5 separate regions of the Homo sapiens genome follow, and regions 2, 3, 4 and 5 are each linked to region 1. The links are contacts of gene promoters, found by promoter capture Hi-C in blood cells and fetal thymus (Javierre and others, 2016). All regions are on one chromosome and are shown on one strand. Each heading gives the region's core, a stretch centred on a gene start or on the middle of the fragment in contact. The rest is flanking DNA. Distances are from core to core; before and after follow the strand shown.

The links. Contacts are between HindIII fragments. The CHiCAGO score rates a contact against its expected background, and 5 or more counts as called.
Region 2: a contact is called between a fragment that was not itself captured here and the fragment with the promoter of SLC20A1 in region 1, in 3 of 17 cell types (naive CD8 T cells, naive CD4 T cells and non-activated CD4 T cells). The highest score is 5.9, in naive CD8 T cells.
Region 3: a contact is called between a fragment that was not itself captured here and the fragment with the promoter of SLC20A1 in region 1, in 4 of 17 cell types (M0 macrophages, M1 macrophages, M2 macrophages and 1 more). The highest score is 8.2, in M0 macrophages.
Region 4: a fragment that was not itself captured here is called in contact with the fragment with the promoter of SLC20A1 in region 1 in 2 of 17 cell types (M0 macrophages and M2 macrophages); the score reaches 6.5 in M0 macrophages.
Region 5: a fragment that was not itself captured here is called in contact with the fragment with the promoter of SLC20A1 in region 1 in 1 of 17 cell types (naive CD4 T cells); the score reaches 6.0 in naive CD4 T cells.

The regions. Positions count from the first base shown.
Region 1 is chr2:112,644,456-112,647,209 of GRCh38, forward strand. It overlaps SLC20A1 (solute carrier family 20 member 1), which reads left to right and starts at 1,484. Exons shown (of 11, transcript NM_005415.5): 1 at 1,484-1,674; 2 at 2,108-2,707. The coding sequence starts at 2,374. RefSeq lists silencers at 1,146-1,975, 2,437-2,731. The HindIII fragment of the contact is 3,268 bases long and covers 455-2,754 here.
Region 2 is chr2:112,991,402-112,994,158 of GRCh38, forward strand. No RefSeq gene overlaps it. Among named protein-coding and RNA genes, the nearest start is that of IL36A, 13 kb to the right of the region's middle. The HindIII fragment of the contact is 626 bases long and covers 1,108-1,733 here.
Region 3 is chr2:112,920,525-112,923,224 of GRCh38, forward strand. No RefSeq gene overlaps it. Among named protein-coding and RNA genes, the nearest start is that of IL37, 11 kb to the left of the region's middle. The HindIII fragment of the contact is 6,002 bases long and covers 1-2,700 here.
Region 4 is chr2:112,936,705-112,939,404 of GRCh38, forward strand. No RefSeq gene overlaps it. Among named protein-coding and RNA genes, the nearest start is that of IL37, 27 kb to the left of the region's middle. The HindIII fragment of the contact is 3,789 bases long and covers 1-2,700 here.
Region 5 is chr2:112,152,973-112,155,672 of GRCh38, forward strand. All of the region lies in intron 1 of FBLN7 (fibulin 7), which reads left to right. Among named protein-coding and RNA genes, the nearest start is that of FBLN7, 16 kb to the left of the region's middle. The HindIII fragment of the contact is 1,595 bases long and covers 582-2,176 here.

The DNA of each region.
Region 1 (2,754 bases), core at 234-2,733:
AGGATTACACTACGGGGTCAGTGCTCCCGGATATGAACTTTCTTTTTCAGACCGACCTTGGGACCTACAGCTTTGTAAGTTACTCATACAACTCCATCAAATGTTACAGGTAGGTCAGAGGACATTCAGGTTGTTTAAGCCTCTATAAATGACTCAGGCAGCAACAATTTACAACGTCTTTGTTTCTGCTATGCAGTGCCCTCCTGCTAGAGATGGCAAAAATGTGGGGAGGGCTTCAGAGCATTCTAAGCCTGGTATTTCTGGCTGGAATTTTTAAATCTCACTACAATCCTGACAAGAGACCACGACCTTAATCTCCCACGGCATGACTGGTTAGTCTTGATCGTAAGCCATATAATCAACACCCAAATGTGCATAACACATCTAAATAATGTCAAAACTACACTATATACCACGCAGGGGACCAGAAATCAATCTTTACCTCAAAAGGATAAGCTTCCAGGATGCAATAACATCCCCTTCCACCCTTTTCTACACCCTAAAACAGTAATATTCACGGTAACAGCAAAGCGGAAATCAGCTTTTCCTGAACATGTACTGAATTCTAGTCACATTCACACACGTTAATTCATTTAATTCCAGCCACAAGGTAGGCAGCCTCTGTTAACATTTTACAATTGTGAGAACGCAGAGATCTGGGACTGGCTCAAGGTGACACACTGCAGCAAGGAGTCAGAATTTGAATCCGAAGCAGTGTCCTTCCCCCTCGCAACAGCTGCGGCGTTACAAACACAGGTCAGCCACGGAGAAATTAATGACCCACAGCCATCCTTGCAGCTCTGCGCCATAACTGGGGAGACAAGCTGGTTCCCGTGACTCTTCAGTCTGTTTTCACCCAAGTGCATGACTGCGGGAGCAAAGCGACCACGTGAGCATCCCCCCCCCACCCCCCCGCTTCCCCCAGGCGAGGGACAGTGCCAGGCCAAGGACAAGTCACAGGTGCAACAACGTGCCAGAACTGGATCCGGAGCCCCAGGGCGCAAGATCTCCCGCAGCGTCACCCGGCAGAGGGACGGGTGTGGCCACCGGGCGCGGCAGGTCCTGCGTGCGCTGAAAGTGCGGCTGGAGGCGCGGACGGCTTTCCGGAGCCCCGAGAGAGGAGCTAGGAATGACTTTGGTCGCAGCCTCTGTAACCCCGCATGACGGCCTCTAGGGGGACAGCGAGGTCCCCCTCGATCTCTGGCTGTAATCAGCCGGCGGGGCCAGACGGTGCCGAGACTCCAGGGCGAGGCCGCAGGGAGGGGGCTGTCCCGCCCCACGTGGACCGGCTCCCCGCTGGGGGCGTGGCCGCCGAAGCGGGCCGGGCCAATGAGCGCCACCGTCGGGCTCACCCGGCTGGGCACGCCGGGCCGAGGAGGGCTGCGTCATGCCGGGGGCGGGGCTTCGGGGCCGGCGCGAGGCGCGGCGGGGTCACGCGGGTCGCTGCGCGGGCTATAAGTAGGGGCCGGCGGGGTGCTCCGCTGGAGTGATGGCTGCCGGCGCTCTCTGCGTGGTTCTTCTTCTCGGCCGCTGAAACCCCCGCGGCTGCTTCCTGGGAAGGTCGTGAGTCCCGCTGAGCTGTCCCCGGTGCCGCCGACCCGGGCCGTGTGCCCGTGGCTCCAGCCGCTGTCGCCTCGATCTCCTCGTCTCCCGCTCCGCCCTCCCTTTTCCCTGGTGAGTAGTGGCGCCGCCTCGTAAAGGCTCTTTCTTCTCCCCGGGGCCGGGCGCGGACGCCGTGGCGCTGGAGGCGGACGCCGTGGGCGGCGCGGCTGGCTTCTCTCTTCGCCGCTGGCCGCCTCCACTCCGCCCGTCTGCCCGCCCGCGGGCCTTTTTGGCGGTCCCCGGGCGGCGCGCGCGGGAACGGCCCTTTTCCGATTTTCGCGCGGAGGGCGCGCGCGGGCTGGCAGCGCAGGGGCTGGGCTGGGCGCGCGCGGGCCGCGGAGGACCCGGAGCCACGTGCCTCTCCTTCTCGCGCGTCCTACTGGGGATGGGGGTCTGGAGTAGCCGGCAGAGGCTATTGCGGGACCCCGGGCGCGTGGGTAGAGCGGGGTGCCCCACTGGCCCCCCAGGGGCACGCAGCTATTGTTATTTCCCCCCTCCCCCGCAGGATGAACTTGCGTCCTTTCTCTTCTCCGCCATGGAATTCTGCTCCGTGCTTTTAGCCCTCCTGAGCCAAAGAAACCCCAGACAACAGATGCCCATACGCAGCGTATAGCAGTAACTCCCCAGCTCGGTTTCTGTGCCGTAGTTTACAGTATTTAATTTTATATAATATATATTATTTATTATAGCATTTTTGATACCTCATATTCTGTTTACACATCTTGAAAGGCGCTCAGTAGTTCTCTTACTAAACAACCACTACTCCAGAGAATGGCAACGCTGATTACCAGTACTACAGCTGCTACCGCCGCTTCTGGTCCTTTGGTGGACTACCTATGGATGCTCATCCTGGGCTTCATTATTGCATTTGTCTTGGCATTCTCCGTGGGAGCCAATGATGTAGCAAATTCTTTTGGTACAGCTGTGGGCTCAGGTGTAGTGACCCTGAAGCAAGCCTGCATCCTAGCTAGCATCTTTGAAACAGTGGGCTCTGTCTTACTGGGGGCCAAAGTGAGCGAAACCATCCGGAAGGGCTTGATTGACGTGGAGATGTACAACTCGACTCAAGGGCTGCTGATGGCCGGCTCAGTCAGTGCTATGTTTGGTAAGTTCTTTTTATGTTTTGTCCTCTTCGTGGTGGGTGAGCAAATT
Region 2 (2,757 bases), core at 171-2,670, 350 kb after region 1:
TGGGCCTTGTTTTTTTTTTTTTTTTTTAAATTCAGCTACTTTATGACTTTTCATTGGATAATGTAGTTCATTTATATTCAAGGTAATTATTGATTGTAAGAACTTACTCCTGCCATTTTGTTACATGTTTTCTAGTTGTTTTGTGGATCCTTTTTTGCTTTCTGTCTCTCTTACTATCTTCCTTTGTGGCTAATTTTCTTTAGTCGTATGTTTTGATTCCTAATTATTATTTTTAGTGCATAGGTTTTTGCTTTGTGGTTACCATGAGACTTACAAAGACTTTTTATGGTTGTAACAGGTTATTTAAAACTGATGACAACTTAAATTTGATTGCAAAAATTTCTACTTTTTAATTTAACTCCTCTCTCAACATTTTGAATTTTTGATGTCACAGCTTATATCTTTTTATGTTGCATATTCTTTAAGAACTTGTTATAGTTATTATTTATAATAGTTTTGTCTTTTAACCTTTTATACTAAAGATATAAGTGATTTACATACCACCATTATGTTAATAGAGTATTCAGAGTTTGACTATGTACCTACTTTTACCAACGAGTTATATTCTTTCAGATGTTTTCGTGTTACTCATTTGCATCTTTTTTTTCATCTTGCAGAACTCCCTTTAGCATTTCTTGTAAGACAGGTTTGGTGGCGATGAATTCCCTCAGTTTTTGTGTGTCTGAAAAGTCTTTATCTCTCCATCATTTTTGAAAGACAGCTTTGCTGACTAGAATATTCTTGGTTGGCACGTTTTTTTCCTTCAGCATTTTAAAATTCCATTTTCTCCTGGCCTATGAGGTTTCTGTTGAGAAGTTTGCTGTTGGGCATATAGAGACCATTATATGTTATTTGCTTCTTTTCCCTTGCTACTTTCAGGATACTCTTTTTGTCTTTGACAGTTTGATGATTATATGTTGTGGAGTAGTCTTGTTTGGGTTGAGTTTGATTAGAGATCTTTGACCTTCCTGTACTTGGATATTTATATCTTTCTCCAGGTTTGGAAAGTTTTCCATTGTTATTCCATTCCTTTCTCTTTCTTTACTCCCTCTTGAGTACCAGTAACCCATACATTTGCTCTTTTGATGTTACTCCATAAGTTTTATAAGCTTTCTTCATTTATTTTTATTCCCTTTTCTCCACTGACTGTATATTTTGAATTACCCTGTCTTTGAATTCACAGATTCTTTTCCTCTTGTTGTTCAGTTCTACTGTGGATGGTCTCATTGTATTTTTAATTTTTTTTTTCTCAGCTCCAGAATTTCTATTTGAGTTTTTGAAAGTTATTTCATTATCTCTGTTAAATTTCTCTGACCAAATTTTGAATTGTTTTTTGGTATGTTCTTGAAGTTTGCTGAGCTTCCTTAAAACAGGTATCTTGAATTCCTTGTCAGGCAGTTCTTCCATCTCCATTTCTTCAGGGTCAGTCACTGGCACCTTATTTTGTCTGCTTGGTGAAGTGAACATTCCCTGATTTATTGTGATTCTTGTAGCCATTTGTAGATGTCCATGCATTGATGTAAGTACCTAATCTAGTCTTTGCAATCTGGCTTTGTTGGGGAGCTTCCTTTAGCAGTAAGCCTGTCCAGAGATTCAGAGAAGTTTGACTGGGGAGGTCCCTAAGCCTGTGACCATTTCAGCAATTGCAGCACTAGGAGCTGCTCTAAGTCCAGGATCACAATGGCCAGAATCCTTTGGCAGCAGAGGCTGAGGTAGCACTGGGTCACATCCAAAGCTTAGAGTCTCTGAGACCAGCACAGCACTACATAGGGCATGCTCAACACCATGGCCACTATGGCCTGCCCACTGCTGGCAGTGACTTGTACCAAACTGAAGTCCATCTCACTGGTGCCACAGGTTCCTCTCTGGTGCTGGGGTAGATCTAGAGGCTTCATCTACAGGTATAAGTCTGGTGGTAGGGATCAAGTTGTTTGCCCTGTGGTGGGTTTTACTGTGGCAGGCATGGTACTGAGTTCCAAGGTGAAGTCTTACTCTTAATTCCTTTTTCTTTCCCCAAGAGATAATGTCTCTCTCTATACTGCACTGCCTGGGGTTAGGGAAGGGGTGATGTGGGTAATGTAAAACTGTCCTTCCTATTCTCTTCAATGTATCTGTTATTATTATGATGCTAAAATCAAGTACTGTGATCTCTCACCTGGTTTCCTTTGCTCTTGTGATTTTTTTTGTGCATGAATAGTTGATCAAATTGATGTTTCTGTGTGGGATGATTAATGCAAAGTCCTACTTTCCTCCTTCCTCTGCCACTCTCCTCTAAAGTTTTCTTCCTCAATTGAATATAATGTTGGCATTGCAGTTTTATAAAAATCAACACTAAAATAAGTGTTAAAGTTAATTAATTCTGGAATATCCAATAGAAGAATTAGTCATTGGATATTCACTCATATATCCATGCTATGCTAATAAATAGTGGCAGGTTGTTACATCTGCCAATTTATATTATTAATTAAAAGCTGATGACACATTAGCTTGTGACATGATTATGGTTGTAAGTGTTACAGCATCTCCATCCTGCTACAGGCTGTGTGATGATTTGGTATTCCCACCTCTTTTCTCTACTGTGAAAAACTTTGTTTGTTCAGTCACTGATACCTTGGACTTTCACTTGGCACAAATGTGAGCTCAAACAAAAGCTCAAATATGAGTCCTGACATCATGTGGCTGGACTCAAGGGTAAGGTGTTCATTCTGGTGATACAGAAGAGGCTATGATGACAGAGTATAACCAAAATGAAAACAC
Region 3 (2,700 bases), core at 177-2,676, 280 kb after region 1:
TCAGCTCCTTCTGTTTCTGATCCTGATGGTGATGGTGATCAACACCAGCCCAGTGACAAAAAAGTACATAGTATATTTAGTAGATGTTTCCCACACAGAGAAATGGTAAATATTCAAGGCGAGGAATACTCCAAACATCCTACCTTGATCATTACACATTCCGTGCATGTAATGAGTACTTGCATGTATGCCATAAATATGTGAAATATTATGTATCACTATATAAAAGAAAAAAAAATGTGGCCAGGTGACATCCATATTTTGGAGAGGAAGGCATGTCTTCTTCATAATATCACAAAACTATTTTCACAACAAAGACACAGCTGTTCAAATTAGTCTCTGAGCCGGGGCTGTCTCATGGCAGTGAGGACTCTGGTTCCCTTACAGACTAGCAGAAAGGAGATGGGGCTTACTGACCATGGCCTTGAGGAGGCCGAACATGCAGGCCAAATGGAGACACAGACAGCCTGGGCTTGGTCCTGCTCCATCCCCTTCCAACCTGATGAGATATAGTGAGTCACTATGACATGGGTCACTCATGCTTCCTGTGAGGCTCCACCAAGACAGCAAGTGCATCAACACCTTACGGAAGCACAAGGCCCTGTTTGTTGTTGACTTCATGAAAGGCATGGTTGTGGTGATCGCATTGAGTAGGCTTTTGGGTGAGAGGTGAAAAACCCCAACTATCATGCATTGCAGCCCTCTGGTGGAAACTGTGCTTCAGGCTCTAAATTTCAGGCTCTAGACTGACTCCGGGATGAGTATTTGGAAGCTGAAGTCAATCTGTGGTCTCTTCTCCTGTAGAGCAGGAGTCAGCACTTTTCATAGAGTGCCAGATTCTATATATCCTGCCACATGCTCTGTTGTTACAGAACAAAGAAGGCCATAGACAGCATGGCTGTGTTGGCAAATACACAAAACAGGCAATAAGCTGTATTTGGCCTTTAGGCTGCAGTTTGCCAACCCCTGCACTAACACAGAGCTTAAAGGTGGTGGTGGTGTGCTGGAGCTAGCTTATATCAGCTTGCAATAGCCAATTGCTAACATCTCTTCCAAACTCTGTGTCTGTGCCTTGATGTTGATAGTTTGAAATTGGCTACCCCATTTAATGCTGCAATCTTTTCTCACCCCAGCACTACTGACTCCCCTTTGCCCTGTCTTATTTTTCTCACTCTAACATGCTGTATAGTTTTCTTCTTACATTTATTGTTTGTGTCTTCCACTAGCATGTATGTCCCACAAGTTCTTTGCTCTGTGATGTATCCCAAGAACCCACTGCAGTGCTTGGCACTTGTAGGAACTCCATAAGATTTTTATAAATGAAGAAAGGAAGAAAAAAGAGAGGGAGGGAGAAAGGAAAGGAAGCCTTCTATTTAAATGATGGCCTTCTCCATATTTCTATAGTAATATGACTTCCCTTGCAAAGGAGATGCATTTTGGAAAATGTGTATAAATAAACTCAGGTGGTTTTGAATTTCATTTTCCTAACTGTAATTGTAATCATTGGTCTTTATGTTTAGTGAAAAAGTTTTGGCCCTTATGCCTCACACCTGAGAATCCCAAAGTATTGGTTTGTTAGAGCTCCCATAGAGAACCATAAACTGGGTGGCTTAAAACAACAGAAATGTATCGTCTCCTGGTTCAGGAGGCCAAAGTCTGAACTCCAGGTGTTGGTTCATTCTGAGAGCTCTGAGAGAGAATCTGTTCCAGGCCTCCCTTCAGTTTGTGGTAGCTCCAGGGTTCCTTGGCTGGTGGCAGCAAAACTCCAGTCTCTGCCCCCATCTTCACATGACTGTCTTCTCTCTGTGTTTCTGTGTCCAGATTGTCCTATAAGGACAGAGTCATACTGAATTAGGGCTCACTCGAATGACTTCATCTTAAGTTGAACTGTATCTGTAAAGACCTTATTTCCAAGTAAGGTCACATTCACAGCTACTGGGGGATAGGACCTCAACATATCTTTTTGGGGGACATAATTCAACTCATAATACCCAACATGATAACTGTTCATCCCATGAAATTTAATGTCTCTCAAAAGGTGATCTCAGGGCATTTAATCTGTGACAGAAACTCCCATAGGAAACATTCCAACCAGAAGCTCCTTTCACAGCTGGTCACTCCTCCTACCCCATCCGAGGTCCTGGGGCAGGGTGAGGCAGGTGGGGACAAGAAGAAGGCTGTCTCGGGTGTAGAAAGAGAAGACCCTTATTCACCCGGCACTCTGTTCATGAATGAGCTATCCAGCATAGGATATAATAAATCGCTTTAGGAGTGGTAGACTCCAAACATTTTTTTGGTCCCAGTTATCCTAATCAATTAAACAAACTCTAGAACACATCTTGAAGTGCAGGCATTGGGACATTATGAAACTTACACAGAATTCAAAAATTTACAAGGGCTAAATAAAACAGGGTCTGACATCTAATATTTTCTTCCCACATTCCCATGCACTGTCTGGCTCAACCATCCCCAACCCTCACTCTCATCCTGGTGGACACATGCCTAGTGATGTGATCAGCTGGTTCACAGGGGGCTGGTGATGGTGGATATACAGCTTTTGCCAATTTCCATGGCATAACTACTCCAAATATGGCCAATTTCAAACTACCAACATGAAGGCACAGACACAGAGTTTGGAAGAGATGTTAGCAATTGGCTATTGCAAGCTGATATAAGCTAGCTCCAGCACAGCACCACCGC
Region 4 (2,700 bases), core at 30-2,529, 290 kb after region 1:
TTAAATTATCTAAAACATGTGAAGGAGGTAGAAAAAGATGAGGTGGCTGCACATCCACTTCTACAACAAGGTGACCACAGAAAGTAGCCATGAGTGAGAGGGAAGGGGCAAAGACTAGGTTAAGTCAGGGAGTGAAGTTGGGCTCAGGGAAGACTTCTGCTCTTTTTCATTCTTCTTAACAATCAGGGAGTCCAGGCAGAAGTGGCCTGTCCCATCTCTTCTTCCAGGTGCTCATTTAGACTCAGTTAACATCTCTCCCCACCTCCTCCCTGTACCCCTCTTCTTTAACACACGAAGGACCTTCTGGAGACTTCTCTCAACTAAGCCCCACCAAGGGCTTACTTCTGTCTATGGCCCCTTGGCTACTTGATGATTTCATGTTCTTTATTTTTTTTGGGCAAATATTCCTTAATGTTTTTAATTTTTAATTTGTTAGGATCATTATGTTTCATAATGCCAAAAACAGATGGTCAACTTAGGGAAAAAACGTATAAAGCACTTAGGAACATATGTAACAATGAGTACTATGATGCATATTGACTGAGCACATAATACATGTTAGGTACTCTCTCTCTCTCTGTGTATTGCACTTAACTCTTACAACAACCCCAGCACACAGATAAAGGAACAGGGGCTTTGAGGCTGAGCAAATTGCCCAAGGTCCCATGGCTGATAAGTGGGAGAGAGGCTGTAGTTTTCTGTCCCAAAGGCCATGGTCCTAACTATTATACTATGCATCATCTTAAGCACTATGAATGTTTAATGTCTGTCCTTCCTGTCTTTTATGTGTGTGTATTTATAAATATAGAGGCATGCATGGAAAAATTCATTTATAACCTATTTTTGTCACTAACAGTATATCTCCAATGCCTTTCTGTCACAAGATAGCCTTCTACAGATCATTTTTAACAGCTGCATGACGTTCTATTGAATGTGTAATGATATGCAGAAAACCTCATGCTCTTTTCAGCCATTACAGGAGTTTTTAGTAAGGGGAGACCCACCTTTGTTAGGAGAACTTCTTGTTAGTCTTCCCTGGGGATTGGGACTCCTCAAATTGTACCAAAATAACAAAATATGGTCATTAAAATGTGTTTGAAAGAGTTTGTCCTGTTTATTATCCTGGCCTTTGTTTTGGTGAAGTCTGATGTAGGTAAGGAATAAAGATTGGGCAGGAGTGGGGGAGGAGGGCTGAGTAAAATAGTTTTCAATAAGGAGGGATGAGACTGGAGCTAGTCAAGTTTTGGTTGGAAGTAAGGAGTGGGTGATGGAGGAAGGAGGAGCAAGGGAGGGAGAGGAGAAGAGAAAGGAGGGGAAGGGAGAAGAAGCCATCCAGGATCTAGTGGTTTCCTGACTAGACTGAGGCATGGAAAAAAGGGACAAGTGACTGATGGGGTCATAAGTTGTTTTCTGTGGGGCTACACTGTAAACCCTCTCCACTTCTCCTACAAGTCTCCAGCATCTTCTATATTGCTAAGATGTATTTGAGTCCAAGAGGTCCCTCTTTGGCATGGGAAGTTCGAAGGTGAGGAAAGAGGACAGCTTCCATGTGGGTTATATATGGACGTGCTGCAATTCATTGAAGAGATTTCATATTGTTGGACATTAGGTACACCCTGTAAGCTCAGCAGTGAGGTGAATATTTCTTTAGAATATAGCCTCTAAAGAGGATTCTAGGTTAAAGAGTAGGCACAGGACAAGGCTTTTAGTATATTTGAAAACTTTAGAAATGGAAATGTTTTTGGGGGGCGAGTTGTCTTAATATTTCATTTTTCTAGCTTGTGTGACATCCTTTTGAAAGCAGCAATTCTGGCCTTTGTGAGAGATGGTGAATGCCTGCAGGTATGTGGACCAGTGCGTCCCTTCCTTCCTACATGCACGGCCCCAGCTGGGCCCAGCAGAGTGCTGTTACAGAATAATTTCCAAGGGCTGTGTCTCTAACCTTTGGTCTTGTCCCCCATTGCTGTAGATTTGGCCAATTGACTTCATAAGTGCCTCTTATGAACATAGATGTTGGCAATGGAAGTTGAGGACCAGTCAGTGGTTGTTTTATTGAACACACAGCGTAAATCCCAACACAATGCTGACCTAAGAGAATTCCAGCCACTCTGATTCTCAGTCTCTTTATATCTGAAAGGGTTCTGTTCCACTTTTTCCCAGATCAAAATGTCCCTGCAGCTACTCAGCAGAGCTGTCGCAACTTATACGTAGAAGAGGTAACAGTCCACAAACAGAAAGGCACAGGACGAGAGTGGTCTGGGTGATGCTTCCTGTGGGGGAAAAGGTGATGAGGGTGCATCTGCACACCTATGTTCATAGGTAAGTCTGGGAGGAGGTGACCTCCCCTTTGGTTGAGGTGCTGAGGCGTCTTGTTAGAATGGCACTATTCCATTTATCTGATGCAGTCTGTGGGAATTTTGTGGTATGGCCACCACAGGTACCATGCTGGGAACAATGCCAGATACTGCCTGCTAAGCCACAGCATGAGTCACATGAGCATTTGTGGGCTTTGGGAACTAAAGTTATTGAACGATAGTTATCTGAAAAGGAATTTAGGGAAAGGGGACTTTAGTCCAGCGAACAGTTTGCAAACCAGGGGGAGGCAGCCTTCAGCGTAAAATGAAGACGTGTGTGCCCCAAATAACAAAGGGAGAGTTTGTCTTTTAGAGAGTAAGTTTCCACCCAGGTTCCACTTAGGCA
Region 5 (2,700 bases), core at 129-2,628, 490 kb before region 1:
ATCTCTTTCTTATTGCTTCTGTTTCTGTAGAGAGTTCTGACTAATCCAAAGGCCTCAGGCAACTCCCCAAGTGAAATTCTCTCACTTCCTCCAGAAGCACCCACTTTCTCTCCTCATATATGTGGGTGCTGAGCAGAGGTCTCTGGCATGAAGAGTAGTCGAGGATTTATAACCCGCCTCTGGCTCAGTTGAAAAATAAAAATAAGTTCTGTAGAGAGCACATTCACGAATTCGACATGACTCAGACGCTGAAGACTCCGAGCCTTGGCCAGCAGGCTCACATTTGGTAAGTTGCTCGGTCCTTTCAGAGACCTAAGGCATCAAAACATCTGTGTTCCCATTAACAAAATGCTGACGTGACGCATAGCTGTGGCTTGGGAGAAACCAGCGTGGGAGACGGCCCCTCCAAGTCTAGGGGTCATCCGTGGCCATCGGAGGTCTTGGAGCTCTATTGTCACCAAAGAGGCTCTCAAAAGGTGTCACTGTACCAAGACTGTCACTGTGAGGAAGACCATCGAGCCAGGTTACAGGAGAACAGAAGCCCCAGGGACCAGTCCCCATGTTTCCGTACATACTCCTGAAGCTTCTCTGTACCCTCTGTTGCCTTCAGAGCAGGTTCGGAGTGAGCCCAAACAGCATGGGGGCCTGGATGGGATGAGAGGGGTCAGGCCTGCTGGCAGGGGACCGGGTGAGCCGGGGGACACACACCCATCTTTGGCTGTGTCCACCCTTGGACCAGGAGGTAGGGTCTGGGGGTACGAAATGTCTCTGGAGGCCCAGCCATCCTGCAAGTGGTAGTTGGTTCTCAGAGGAAGGGAGCCTGGTGATCTCTGAGGAATCTTCCGTGGACCCGCCGGAGTAAACACTGTGCGAGAAGGGGCTGGAGGGGAGATGGACAAGAATTCCCGGAGAAGGGCAGGGGTGGATGGAGCGTTCCATGGGCCTTCTTGCTTCCAAGAGCCTTAAAACCAGCTCCTCCCCTCGCCCAGCTCTCAGCACTGGTCTGCGTCTTCCAGAACCATCCATGCCACCTCTACTCCAGCTTGGAAAAACCTGGATGGGGTGACATCTGTTGTTCCTTCTCTAACTGGTTCTCTGCAAACATTGCCATTGGTGTCAAGTTAGATGAAGTACTCACCCCTTTAAAGAGTTTCATAACAGAAACGGTAAACCTTGATATTTTTCTACTCAAAGATGGAAGGTTTCACTGCATGTCTCCTCTTAGTTCCATTTCAAAGAAGTTATTAATTCAAAGAAATGGAAACTATTCGTCATTATTTATTGTCAATGACATAAGTTGGGCCACGACTGGTTTTGAAGGGATGAAAATTTATACCATTTGAGGGGATCTCTCTAAGAAAAAGATTTAAAACGGGGCGCCTCAAGAGCCCTGGAAGAGGCCTGGGAAAGTGAGGACCCAGACATGGCAGCTTCCTCAGCTTCGAGGGGACGGCCTCTGGAACACGCTCTGTCCTTCCTGGTGTGCAGGGGCCTCCCCTTGCTGCCCTGTCTGGATCTGACCTTCACCCACTCCCACCTTGGAGAGTGGGAGGTCAGCTTCGAGGGCTGTGCGGAGCCTGGGGTTGCTTTTCACTGTTGGGACCTGGAACCCTGAGATGGGAAAGCCTCACCCAAAAGCCAGCCCTTCACTGAGCAGCAGGTGGACAGCCCTTGAGGGTCCGGCCGGCTTCCTGTCCATCCCATAGCCCCTCACAGCACCCTTGGCCTGACCTCAGCAAGGACCACATGTGCATGGAAGGAAATGGCCTGCTTCCATGCATGGCTCAGAGCAGGGGAGGGTGGTGGGTTTGGGAGGGGAATGGCAGACAACTGTGGCTGTGGGCAAGGAGCCCCCTGCCCAGACTGAAAAGAGTGCATTGAGGAATGAGAATTGAGACTCAGAGACAGGCCGGTTGCTCTGCTCGTTAACATGAAAATGATGCCACAGCCAGTGTTGAGGGGAAAGAGCTGACATAGAGCCTGCATCCTGTGGGGCTGCATGGTGACGTCTGTGCAAGGGAGCACCTGTGTCTAACCCAAGACTTGAAACCCAACGAAAAGTTAACAGTGGTTGTCTCTGGTTGTGGGACTTGTTCTTTGTTTGAATGCATTTTTCTGTATTTTGAATTGTTTTGCAGAGATTATGCTTTCTTTTTATGATCAAGCAAAATGATAAAGCTTTCTCAGCTTGGAAAAAGGGGGCACTGGGGTCTCAGGCCCCTCACATGACCTCATTTGTCCCCATAATGTGGGTCTCATGGGTGCATGTCTTGGTATGTAAGGATTCCAGCTTCATCATCTAGCTTTGCAAAGGAGCTCGGTGATGCCTGTGCCTATACCAACTCAGGTGACAGATGAGCATGGCATCCAGGACCTGCCCTGTTAGGAGCAGCTGCAGCTCAGACCCTCAAACCTCATGTCAAAGGCACGGATACTCTCTGCTTCTCGGGCTCCCTGGCCCCAGCCCCGGCATGCTGGCTTGCCGAGAGCAGCAAGATGCTTCCTTGTACCACGCTCTGTTTCATCAGCCTCACCCCAGAGAGGTTGGAGGCTGGGATGGGCCACAGCCTCCTCACCTTCCCTCGGCAAGTCAGCCTGGAGCCTTCCTGTCTCCCTCCCCGCCTGGGACGGAGATGCAGCCTTGGTTTGCTTGGTCTTGAAGATGTTTAAGGTTTTTCCGTGGTAACTGGCAAGCTGGGC